Regions from separate parts of the Homo sapiens genome. Here region 1 is linked to region 2. The links are contacts of gene promoters, found by promoter capture Hi-C in human tissues and cell types (Jung and others, 2019). All regions are on one chromosome and are shown on one strand. The core of a region is centred on a gene start or on the middle of the fragment in contact, and the rest is flanking DNA. Distances in the headings are between cores, read along the strand shown. Region 1 overlaps LOC105370026 (a long non-coding RNA gene). Region 2 holds the start of HSPB8 (heat shock protein family B (small) member 8).

Region 1 (5,471 bases), core at 623-3,122, 39 kb after region 2:
GGAGTTGATTTTTGATAAATTGGCCAAATTGACTGTGAACTGCTGGGGCAGACAAACAGAGTGCCCCCTGTGAGGTCTGCGGGGAGGTCCACAAAGATTCACCTCCAACTTCCTTTGTGCTCAACTTCGGCCAAAGCCCTAACCCTCCAGCTCTACTCCAACTCTCTGGAGCACCCCTACTCTCTCTGGGCACTGAAGGCCACCCACATTTTAAGAGGACCCTGTCCTCTTTATTAGCTTCCACATACAAGTATGCATTTTTTCTTTTTGAGACGGAATGTCACTCTGTTGCCCAGGCTGGAATGCAGTGGTGCTATCTCGGCTTACTGCAACCTCTGCCTCCCGGGTTCAAGCCATTCTCCTTAACTCAGCCTTCTGAGTAGCTGGGATTACAAGCGCCCGCCACCATGCCCAGCTAACTTTTTGTGTTTTTAGTAGAGATGGGGTTTCACCATGTTGACCAAGTTAGTCTCGAACTCCTGACCTCAAATGATCCGCCCATCTCAGCCTCCCAAAGTGCCGGGATTACAGGCGTGAGCCACCGCACCCAGCCCTCAAGTATGTATTTATGCTGCAGGAATGTGGATCATGGACTAAGAGCCAAAACTCAAATACGTAACTCTGAGTTTGAATCCTATTTCTGCTGCTGACTGGCTGTGTGATCTTAGGTAACTGACATAACCTCTCTGGGCTTTAGTTTCTTCTGTAAACCAAGGTGAAAATAGTTCCAACTCTAGAGAATTGCATCAAGGATTTCATGAGATCAGCCCTTAAAGTGCTGAGCACAGTGCCTGGCACATAGTAAGAGCTCAATGCATGATAGCTCTCATTGTCGTTATTGTTGTAATCTGAGAAATTTGCTTCTAGTTTTAGGGAAATCCCTTCATATCTCTAGTCTTTGGTTTCCTTCTCTGTAAAATTTAAAATGGTAAAGGCAGACTAGATCCATCCTTCTCAAAGAGAGATTAGAGGCTTCCAGAGGGCTCCCACTACACTTTCAGGGGGTCCACGAGATCAAAACTATTTTTTGTAACACTACTAAGGTGTTATTTGCCTTTTTCACTCTCATACTCTCATGAGTAGAGAGAAAAATTTCGCTTAGTCAACATGACCAGTGATATCACAATAGAATGAAGGCAGGAGCAGCAATGAGAATCCAGTCATCATTGAATGTTGAACATCTGAGAGATTTGCAAAAATATAAAACAATGTACTTCTTCTCGGTTTTTTGGAAAATATAGTTATTTTTCATAAAAATATGATATTTTTGTTAACATCACATGGGTTGCCTATTGTTTTTAAATGGATTTATACATAAATATTTTAAAAATGTGTCAGTTTTAATTTCTAAAGTAGTAAATAATGATAGCTATATCTATACAAACACATTATTTGGGGTCTTCAGTAATTTTTAAGAGTCTAAAGTGTCCAGAGATCAATACGTTTGAGAATTACTAGATTAGATTATTTCAATAGGTCCAAGAGTCTGGGGTTGTTACATGCCAGGCCCTCAATATATGTTGCTCATTCATCTTCATTCACTTATTCATACTGCAACAGACATTTAAGGAGTAGTTCCTATGTGCCAGGCACTTTGCAAGTTGCTGGGGGTATAATGGAGGAAAAGACACAGTTTCTGGTAGGGAATACATGAACATACTTGTTCATTGAGTGATATAGACACACAAACCCGATGATAGTCCTTATGAGGCAAGAGGAAGACAGGCTGGTGTGAGCTTAGAAGTAGGGTGGCAGGAACAAGATGACACCACAGGCAAGGAGTGTTAGCAAAGAATTCTCAATCACATTTGCAGGAATGCGCTTGGAACTGAGAGGGAGATTCGGGCAAGGAATCAAGGTGGGGCTCAGAGGGGCACACAGGGGTTGAGGGTTCAAACATCTTGGACTGTGATTCAGGAATGATGACCTCTGTCTTTGAGCCAGGTGAGAACAGCACCTCAGAGAGAGACAGCCACAACAGACATGGGTTACCTAGGAGACATCTGATGCTCTGTCTTGCAGCTGTTCATACATGTGCTTCTTTCTGCCTGTAACATTGTGGCCTGTCCTCAGTTTTCTTCAGGTGGCCAATGCTCCTACCTTTAGCACTCTGCTTCTTCTAGCTATCTCCTCTTATACCCGGGGCTCCCAAGACAGACTGCATAACCATCAATGCACCTGTCACTGGATCATCCACACCTACTTCCCTCCCTTACCAGACTGTAAGTTTCTTTTTTTCTTTCTTTCTTTTCTTTTCTTTTCTTTTTTTTTTTCTTAGACAGAGTCTCTCTCTGTTGCCCAGGCTGGGGTGCAGTGGCACAGTCTCAGCTTACTGCAATCTCCACCTCCTGGGTTCAAGCAATTCTTGTGCCTCAGCCTCCTGAGTAGCTGGAATTATAGGCGTGCACCACAATGCCAGGCTAATTTTTGTATTTTTTGTAGAAAAAGGGTTTCACATGTTGGCCAGGCTGGTCTCGAACTCCCAACCTCAAGTGGTCTGCCCTCCTCGGCCTCCCAAAGTGCTGGGATTAACAGGCACAATCCACTACACCTGGCCCTTTAGACTGTAAGTTTCTTGAAGAATAAAATGGCACTCTGTCCCCATCATACTTGTGGGGAATAGCTCAGAACTTGTATACAATAAGCGTCATCGGCAGCAGCATCATTGCCATCATCATTATTAAAGCCATCATTTGGGTTCATGTTTTTTTTTTTTTTTTGCACTGTCACCACGTGCTAAACATTTTATAGATCTGAACTCATAAAGCTTAACTCTTTTAATCATTATCACAATACCCAGGTGGTATTAGGTCACACTCTATGAAACTGCCATTTTCTGTAGGTTAAAACAGTCCAATATTAACAATTTCCTGTGGTTCAATCAAATATATTTTAGTGCCCCCATGTGACAGATGAGAAAATTGAGGCACTAAAAGACAATTATTTGATGAGTAATGAATAAATGAATGAATATCGGGGGAAATTCACCCCCGATATTTCACGTAGGTTCTTTTCTACTTTCCCTAAGTGTCAGCTGGTCTGAGAAATAAAGGGAAAGAGTACAGAAGACAGAAATTTTAAAGCTGGGTGTCCGGAGGAGACATCACATGTCAGCAGGTTCTGTGATGCCCCCCAAGCAGCAAAACCAGCAAGTTTTTGTTAGTGATTTTCAAAAGGGGAGGGAGTGTATGAATAGGGTGTGGGTCACAGAGATCACATGCTTCACAAGGTAATAAAATATCACAAGGCAATTGGAGGCAGGGTGAGATCACAGGACCACAGGACCCAGGCAAAATTAAAATTGCTAATGAAGTTTCGGGCATGCATTGTCATTGATAACATCTTATCCAGAGACAGGGTTTGAGAGCAGACAACCGGTCTGACCAAAATTTATTAGGCGGGAATTTCCTTGTTCTAATAAGCCTGGAAGCACTACGGGAGACCGGGGCTTATTTCATCCCTTATTAAGCCGTAAAAGACAGCCGCCCCCAAAGCAGCCATTTCAGAGGCCTCCCCTTACGGACATGTTCTCTTTCTCAGGCATGTTCCTTGCTGAGAAAAAGAATTCAGCAATATTTCTCCTATTTGCTTTTGAAAGAAGAGAAATATGGCTCTGTTCTGCCCGGCCCACAGGCAGCCAGATTTTAAGGTTATCTCCCTTGTTGCCTGAACATTGCTGTTATCCTGTTCTTTTTTCAAGGTGCCCAGATTTCATATTGCTTAAACAATTTGTGCAGTTAATGCAATTATCACAGGGTCATCCTCAGCTTGTGAAGATGATGGGATTAAGAGATTAAAGTAAAGACAGGCATAGGAAATCACAAGAGTATTGATTGGGGAAGTGATGAGTGTCCATTAAATCTTTATAATTTATGTTCAGAGATTGTAGTAAAGACAGGTGTAAGAAATTATAAAAGTATTAATTTGGGGAACTAATAAATGTCCATGAAATCTTCACAATTTATGTTCTTCTGCCATGGCTTCAGCCAGTCCCTCCGTTCGGGGTCCCTGACTTCCCGCAACAAATGAATAAATGAATCCTTAGAAATGAGAAAACTGATCTATGGTGAGCCCCCACTGTGCACCAGGCCCTTTGCAGGCATTCTTTCATCTTTGTAATGTGGCCTCATCCAAAGAGATTTTTAAGCGGGGGAATGATCAGTCAGGTTGCGTGCAGATGCATTACTTCATTTAATTCTTACCATGTCCTGAGGAGGGAAATAGGCAACTGTTACCACTACTGAAAAGATGAGAAAACTGAGGCTCAGAGATGTGAAGGGGCTTTCCAAGATCACACAGCCAGGCAGCAACAGAGGTAGGATTTCAACCCAGGTCCATCTGATTCCCTTCCTCAGGTCAGAAAACACATAAGGGAGGCTTCTCATTGTTGTGTAGCAGGTGGGAAGCTCAGAGCCCCTCATTATGGAGGGAGTCTGTATTAGTCAGCTCTGGCTGCCGTAACAAAATACTCCAATGGTTTGGTTTAAACACAACTGAAATTTATTTTCTCACATTTCTGGAGCTGAAAGTCCAAGATTGAGGTACTGGTAAATTCAGCTTCTGGTGAGGGCTCCCTTCCTGGCTTGCAGACAGCCACCTTCTTGCTCTCAGAGGGAGAGAGAGAGAGATAGAGAGAGAGAGATTCTCTTCTTATAAGCCTACTAATCCCATTGGATCAGGGCCTCATGCTCATGACTTCATCTAATCTTAATTACTTCCTTAGAGGTCCCATCTCCAAATACAGCCACATTAGCAGTTGAATTTTGGTGGGACACAAACACTCAGTCAGGGTCATTTCCAGTTACCCCCACCTCCCTGCTCTGAATTCTACTATCCACACCCCACTGAGAGAGAAACTGCTAGCGGTGAAAACAAAAGCCTCCTCACTCCTAAAGGGGAGAGACAGTAAAGGCAAAAGAACGATTCACCCAAGCAGCTAATATTTACAAACTTGCCAAAACCTTCCCCGACTTCCCACACAAACACAGACACCAGAGGCTTACTGCTGTCTCAGTTTATTGTACTAAAAATATTTGCCAGCACAAGGTTTTTATTAGTAGTGTGATTAGGATTATTATTTTTTTTCCACAGACAAAATCGTTACTGGAGTAGGAGGCTGTGGACATCTGAAGAAATACCACAGAGGAAGCCTATACTGCCATCTTTTTCTCATTTTTTCTGACAGGATCTATATCAATTCCTTTTTTCCATTCCTTAATTCTATTATTTTTAACTACATAAGACATTTTGTTACAGGAAAACCAGAAAACCCGAAAACCCAGAAGAAAATGAAAATCATTCACATTCCCTCCTTTCAGAGAAGGCTATGACTATTACATTTTCATTGCTTTTTTCCCATCAACTTTCACATGCACCAACATATAGAGAGTATTGTTTTTAATATTATTTTACAGAAATGGTATCAAACTTGGTGTATTTCCTCCTCTTTATTAGTACATATCACGAGTGTC
Region 2 (6,268 bases), core at 1,505-4,004:
GGTCCCCTGGTCCCAACTGAGCCTCATTTGAGGCAGAGGGGTCCTCTGGAGGTTTGGGGATGGCCTGGGAAGGGAAAAGGAGGGGAGTTTCTTCCTGAACATACCCACCAGCAGACTCGGCGATAAACAAACACAGACCTATCGGCGCATAAACACAGACTCACTCCTGCACCCACTCAAATCCGCACACAAACTCATTCCACTCTGTCCCACCCACTCAGAAACCTCACCCCAGCCCCTGCCCAGGTCCCAGGCAGGGCCAGGTTTCTCCGGTGCGTCATGCGGCTTGCAGTGATTCTCCCCACAACTGGTTTCCAACTCAGCCAGCCCCGCCCAGCTGTAATTACAGAGAGAGCTGAAGCTTCTGTGCCCAGCCATGACGTCAGCCCGAAGCTTCCAGCCTGATGAGCTCACCCTACATCCAGTGGGGGCCCAGTCACTCGGGACATGTCATGCCGTGGGGTCCCCACCATTCTTTCTCAGCTGGGGAGGAGGGCAGGGGTCTCTGTCTGTCGGTTAAGCACAGATCCGGGATTCAGAACAACCCAGGTTCCCACCCAGGCTCTGCCACTCCATATCTGTGTGCAAGGGTCAAACCTCTGTGCCTCTGTTTTTTCACCTGCAAAATGGGGGTGATGATAATAGTGACGTTTAACTATCGAGTCAGGATTTAACTCAGTAATGTCTGAAATGTACTAACTCTAAAAGCAGACGCACAGGAGGCAATGGGCGACAGTGATTGTTTTTCTCCGTATTATTATTTTTAGCAAACTGCCTCATGCACTCACTGTTTAATATCAAAACAATTTCTCAACCTATGACTCACTGAATTCCTTAATATCCTCAGTTTACCCTCATCTCGTGAAGAAGGCAGGGCTGAGACCCGAAAGCCCACACAGGGAAAACGACATGCCTAAAATTTTCTGCCTGTTGCGGACAGATCAAAGATTAGAACCCAAGCCGAAGAGGCCTCCAAGCCAAAGGAGGATTTGTAAATTCATTCTTCCAGCTGCATGGGAAGAGCAGGAAAGTCTAGATTTGGGGCTTTGAGTTTCAGACCAGACCTCCTGCCTGAGTGTAACATCTTTCAATAATTATCAGTATTAACAGTCATAATAATAATAGAAGCTACTATTCATGAACACTTCTATGGTAGTTTTCTCATCTGTAAAATGGGATAATACTGGTACTCTTACCTCACAGGATTGCTGGTGAGGGTTAAATGAATTCATATTTATAAAGCCCATAGAGCAGGGCCTGGCATATAGCAAACATTATGTAATTGATAACTCAAAATTGAAAATACAAGGAGAAAGAGAATTACCTCATGTATTCTTCATGGTACATCTGTGAGTTGGCTACTGTTATGTCCGTTTATAAGGAGGAAAACTAACAACCTGGAGGTGCCTGGGAATAATGTTACTGCCTATAAAGATGCTTTGATTGACCAAACATTAATCGGATTTCTGAATCTTCTCCTAAGCCCATCAGTGAGGTTCCTTATAAAAATTCAGTTTTGGGCCAGGCGAGGTGGCTCACGTCTGTAATCCCAGCACTTTGGGAGGTGGAGGCAGGTGGATCATGAGGTCAGGAGTTCAAGACCAGCCTGGCCAAGATGGTGAAATCCAACTCTACTAAAAAATACAAAAATTAGCCGGGCACGATGGCGGGTGCCTATAATCCCAGCTACTCGGGAGTCTGAGGCAGAAGAATCGCTTGAACCTGGAAGGCGGAGGTTGCAGTGAGCGGAGATGGCGCAACTGCGCTCTAGCCTGGGGGACAGAGTGAGACTCTGTCTCAAAAAAAAAAAAGAAAAGAAAGAAAGAAAAATTCAGTTTTGGCATGAACTCTGCTAAGTCTGTTTAGTAGCAACCACCCATCTTCGATTTCTGATCACCCTCGATATCTGATTAGTTTCCTCATCCTCCGCGGTCCCCCAGGTGATGTCTGAGCACCCTGGCCTGTCTTCAGCAAGAATCCTCTTAGGTTAGCTGAGCCCGAATCCCTCTGACTCCTGGACTTCCCTCCTAGTAAATTTCCATTCGCTGACCCCCCACCTGCTTCTTGGCTACAAATTCACACTTACCCATGACCTACTGGGAATCAAGTCTAATCTTTCTCCCTCACTGCAAAATCCCATTGCAGGGGTCCCTACATCTATGGAGAAAGTTTCCCTGCCCAGTAAAGTCTTGCTTGTCATACTTTAACAAGCGTCATATGAATATATATATACACATTAAAAAAATTTTTTTTTTCCTTTACCAATCTCCCCAGAGGGCATTGAGGCTCTAGGAGCTTGGCCATCTTGTAAGTGGGGATTGCAACCCAGGGCCATCCTTCAAATCCACTGGGCTCCTGTCTCTCTCTTCCCTTTCTGCAGGTCCCCAGGGGAAAGGCAGGATACGACACGCTCTAGGGAAGGTATTTCCAGAGGGTGACCTGAGCCCTCAGCCAGGCTCGGGGTTATTAATAGCCAGGCCTTAGTGCCCCGCTCGGGGAGGGCGGCTCCAGCTCCTGGAGCAAGAGGAGGGCGGAGCTGAGCGGAGTGGCCAGGGGAGGAGAGAGTGTCCGGAGAGGCCGGCTGAACTTGGACGCGGCCCCTCCCAGCTCCCCCCACAGCCCAGCTGTTCCCTCCGCGGATTCTCCGGGGCTGGTTCATCACCTCCGAATATTCCTGTGACAGGAGACGCTTGCAAAACCCGCCTCCAGCCTCCAGCAGCAAATAAATAGAAGGCTTGCAGCCCAGAAGGAGCCAGAAGAAGTTTCTAGGCGCGCGTGCCCTGGGTTTATTAAGCTCCTGGCTCCGCTCTAGACCTCAGCGGTTCTGGCTGCCAGCCTGGGCAGCCTGGGAAGCCTGGGAGGACGGTGGCTTGCCGGTCTGTCGTGAGGCAGTGCGGACGGGGACCCTCTGGGATTCTGCTGGATCTGCCCCGGGGGTTACCTTTGGGGGCTGGGACCCCAGTCGAGGGGACACAACCGTCCCTGGCAGTGGTTGGTTCTGCTTCTCCCTGCAGAAAAGCAGCATTTTCGGAAGCTGAAGAATAAGCTAGCCCAGCCACACCACCTTGTTGTGTGACCTTGGGCAGGTGGTTCTGTCTCTCTGAGCCTCTGTTTCTCTCTGAGCTGAGCAGCCACCATGGCTGACGGTCAGATGCCCTTCTCCTGCCACTACCCAAGCCGCCTGCGCCGAGACCCCTTCCGGGACTCTCCCCTCTCCTCTCGCCTGCTGGATGATGGCTTTGGCATGGACCCCTTCCCAGACGACTTGACAGCCTCTTGGCCCGACTGGGCTCTGCCTCGTCTCTCCTCCGCCTGGCCAGGCACCCTAAGGTCGGGCATGGTGCCCCGGGGCCCCACTGCCACCGCCAGGTTTGGGGTGCCTGCCGAGGGCAGGACCCCCCCACCCTTCCCTGGGGAGCCCTGGAAAGTGTGTGTGAATGTGCACAGCTTCAAGCCAGAGGAGTTGATGGTGAAGACCAAAGATGGATACGTGGAGGTGTCTGGTAAGTCAGGGGCAGGAGGGAGAGAGAATGGGGAGGCCGGGATGTAGCCCTCAGCCCTGGGAATAGCCAGAGAAAGTTTCCTGGGAGCTGACGTTGGGACAGTGTGACACAGGTGACCTCAGGGCTCAGGAATGCAGCCTGCAAAGTTATCTTTACGGAAAACTTCTCTCCCGGCTCCCAGCAGAGATCTTAACCTGCCTGACTCAGCTATTGGGGCCTCTGGGTGCTCATCAATCATGGTACAGACAGGAAAATAGAAACCATGTTGGATATTTTGACAGAGGGCATTTAATATAAAGAATAGGTTAAGCAGATATCAAAGAATTAAAAAACAAAGAAGAAACGGGATTTTGTGCACTCCAGCATCATAACAGAGTCTAGAAGTGCACGTTAAGGCTGAACAATGATAGTGTTAATAACCGCAACTGGTTTCCGGTGAAACACCTCTCCTTGTCCCAGACAGGGAAACTGAGGCTTACCAGTAATTGTAGTAACACTAACTGGTAACTCTGAGTGCTAACTATTCGCTCAGCACTTTGCTAACTGCTGTTGCCTATAATATCTCAGCTAATACCACAACCAGAGGAGGTGGGTACTGTTTATCTTCTTTTTTCAGATGAGGAAACTGAGGCACGGAGAGATTAAAGTAACTTGTTCAAGGCCACCAAGGAGTCAGACCCAGGTTGTCTGGGAATTAGGAGGCCAGAAAGAAGAAGTGATGATTTACTGAGCACCTACTAGGTGCCAAGGGTGGGCTGACATTCTTATACTTCTCCAAAATCATCCTCAGTCCACTCCAGGGTAGCAGGGTAGGCCCATCTTGCAGCTGAGGAGGCTGAGGCCTAGGTGGGACTCGTTCACAGTCATGCCATGAGTCAGCAATAGGAGTGGAGTAGGGACTGGGCCTATGCACAGCTTTAGGCCCAGGGCTCTCACTGCCGCATCCCACCCTGGGAGAAATAAACATACTAGGGGGAAAAATGAGAGAAGACAGGAAGCTCAGCCCCTGTGAAGCTGGGCAGTAGAAAAATCTTTCTTTTCCTTCCCTCCTGATTAACACTCCATTAAAAAGAATGTGTTCCCGGCAGAGGCTTGCCTTCCAGAAAATCAGTCAAAGCCATTGCAAACACAGGCTGGGCAGGAACAAGCCCCAGCAGCATTCAGGGGGAGTTTCAAGCCAGTCCTGGTAGAATTATAAACATCAGAGGCTCCAGCGGGTGTGGTGGGCTGGGAGACACGCTGGGGCCACGTGCTGATGACAGGGTCAGCCAGATTTCTGAGTTGGCTGGGGAGCAGGGCATGAGTTCCGAAACTGGCTCCAACTTTAACCAGCAGGATGTGCAAATTACTTCACTTTGTGCTTCTGTTTTGTTTCCTCATCTGGAAATTAGGGTTCAAATGGTTATACCATAAGGATTGTTGTTTTAAGTGAGGTGATGCTGTAAAATGTGTACATACCTGTGAACCCAGAAAATCTGAGACAGATCTCAGTTCATTTAGGAAGTTTATTTTGCCGAGGTTGAGGACACTCCCATGACACAGCCTCAGGAAGTCCTCCTGTCACATGCCCAAGGTGGTCTGGGCACAGCTTAATTTTATACATTTTAGAGAGACATGAGACATCAATCAATATATGTAAGAAGTACATTGGTTCGATCTAGAAATGCAGGACAACTTGAAGCAGGGAGGGGTTTTCCAGGTCACAGGTAGGTGAGAGACAAATGGTCGCATTCTTTTGAGTTTCTGATTAGCCTTTCCAAAGGAGACAAACAGATAATGCATCTATGTCAGTGAGCAGAGGGCTGCCTTTGAATAGAATGGGGGGTAGGTTGGCCCTAAACAGTTCCCAGCTTGACTTTTCCCTTTAGCTTAGTGATTTGGGGGCCCCAAGATTTATTTTCCTTTCACATTCTATGACCTGGAACACAAGGAATTAGTATTATTATTGTCGTCGTTATTGTTATAGTGTCAGGCATCCAGGAAGGCCCCAATAAATAATGAATAATAGATGCTCTTTGAAACCTGGGTTCAGATCCCAGCACTGCTGTTCACTAGCATGGCGGATGTGGACGAGAAAGTCTTCATCCCTCTGAGCCTCATTTCTCCTATTTGCAGAATGGAGACCATAATAATATCTGTCCTGTAAGGGTGTAGGAAAGATTAAACATATGCAGACTATCTATGATAATATATGCGGAGTGTCTATAAAATGGAGCTAATAATAGTGCTTGCCTGGCACTCTGTAAACAGACCGATTATCACCATTCCTTCTGTCCTTGTTTTAATTAGGGTCTTAGATGCTTCTAGCCCAAGTCCAAGGGTCGACTCCACCCTGTGGTCCCTCTAGGAGACCCTCTGTCCAGCCTGGAGGGTTTTTCACCATCCTCTTTTGTAGGTGCTTCATAACAGGTGGGGTCTGGCAGCTCCATGTTGAGATCTCAGCTAAGTATCTTACTAATCCAGAGGCTTTGGGTGAGTCATGCAGTCTCAATTTCCACGTCTGTAAAATGGGGTCATTGGGAGCTTAAATAAGACAAAGACAAAGCTTTTCAGACATGCAATTAGTGACATCGGCTAGACAAAATCCAAATTCCCTGAGAGTCCATACAAGGGCTTTCATAAAAGGGGTTTAAAAATAAAATTGATATCAGGAGCTCTATTTAAGAAGCAACTTTCGGGCCGGGTGCGGTGGCTCATGCCTGTAATCCCAGCATTTTGGGAGGCCAAGGCGGGAGGATCGCTTAAGGTCAGGAGTCTGAGACCAG

Evidence for each region. Contacts are between HindIII fragments. The study calls those that stand out against the background at their distance.
Region 1: a fragment that was not itself captured here is called in contact with the fragment with the promoter of HSPB8 in region 2 in 6 of the 25 tissues and cell types used here (adrenal gland, hippocampus, neural progenitor cells and 3 more).

What each region holds. Positions count from the first base shown.
Region 1 is chr12:119,215,623-119,221,093 of GRCh38, forward strand. LOC105370026 (a long non-coding RNA gene) reads left to right here. Exons shown (of 3, transcript XR_945438.3): 3 at 5,092-5,471. Among named protein-coding and RNA genes, the nearest start is that of HSPB8-AS1, 34 kb to the left of the region's middle. RefSeq lists an enhancer at 3,074-3,575. The HindIII fragment of the contact is 6,029 bases long and covers 1-4,887 here.
Region 2 is chr12:119,176,177-119,182,444 of GRCh38, forward strand. It overlaps HSPB8 (heat shock protein family B (small) member 8), which reads left to right and starts at 2,755. Exons shown (of 3, transcript NM_014365.3): 1 at 2,755-3,503. The coding sequence starts at 3,137. It overlaps HSPB8-AS1 (HSPB8 antisense RNA 1), which reads right to left. Exons shown (of 3, transcript XR_007063482.1): 3 at 4,991-6,026. It overlaps LOC105370024 (a long non-coding RNA gene), which reads right to left and starts at 308. Exons shown (of 2, transcript NR_134996.1): 1 at 231-308. RefSeq lists enhancers at 1-1,178, 2,358-3,107. The HindIII fragment of the contact is 13,927 bases long and covers 1-6,268 here.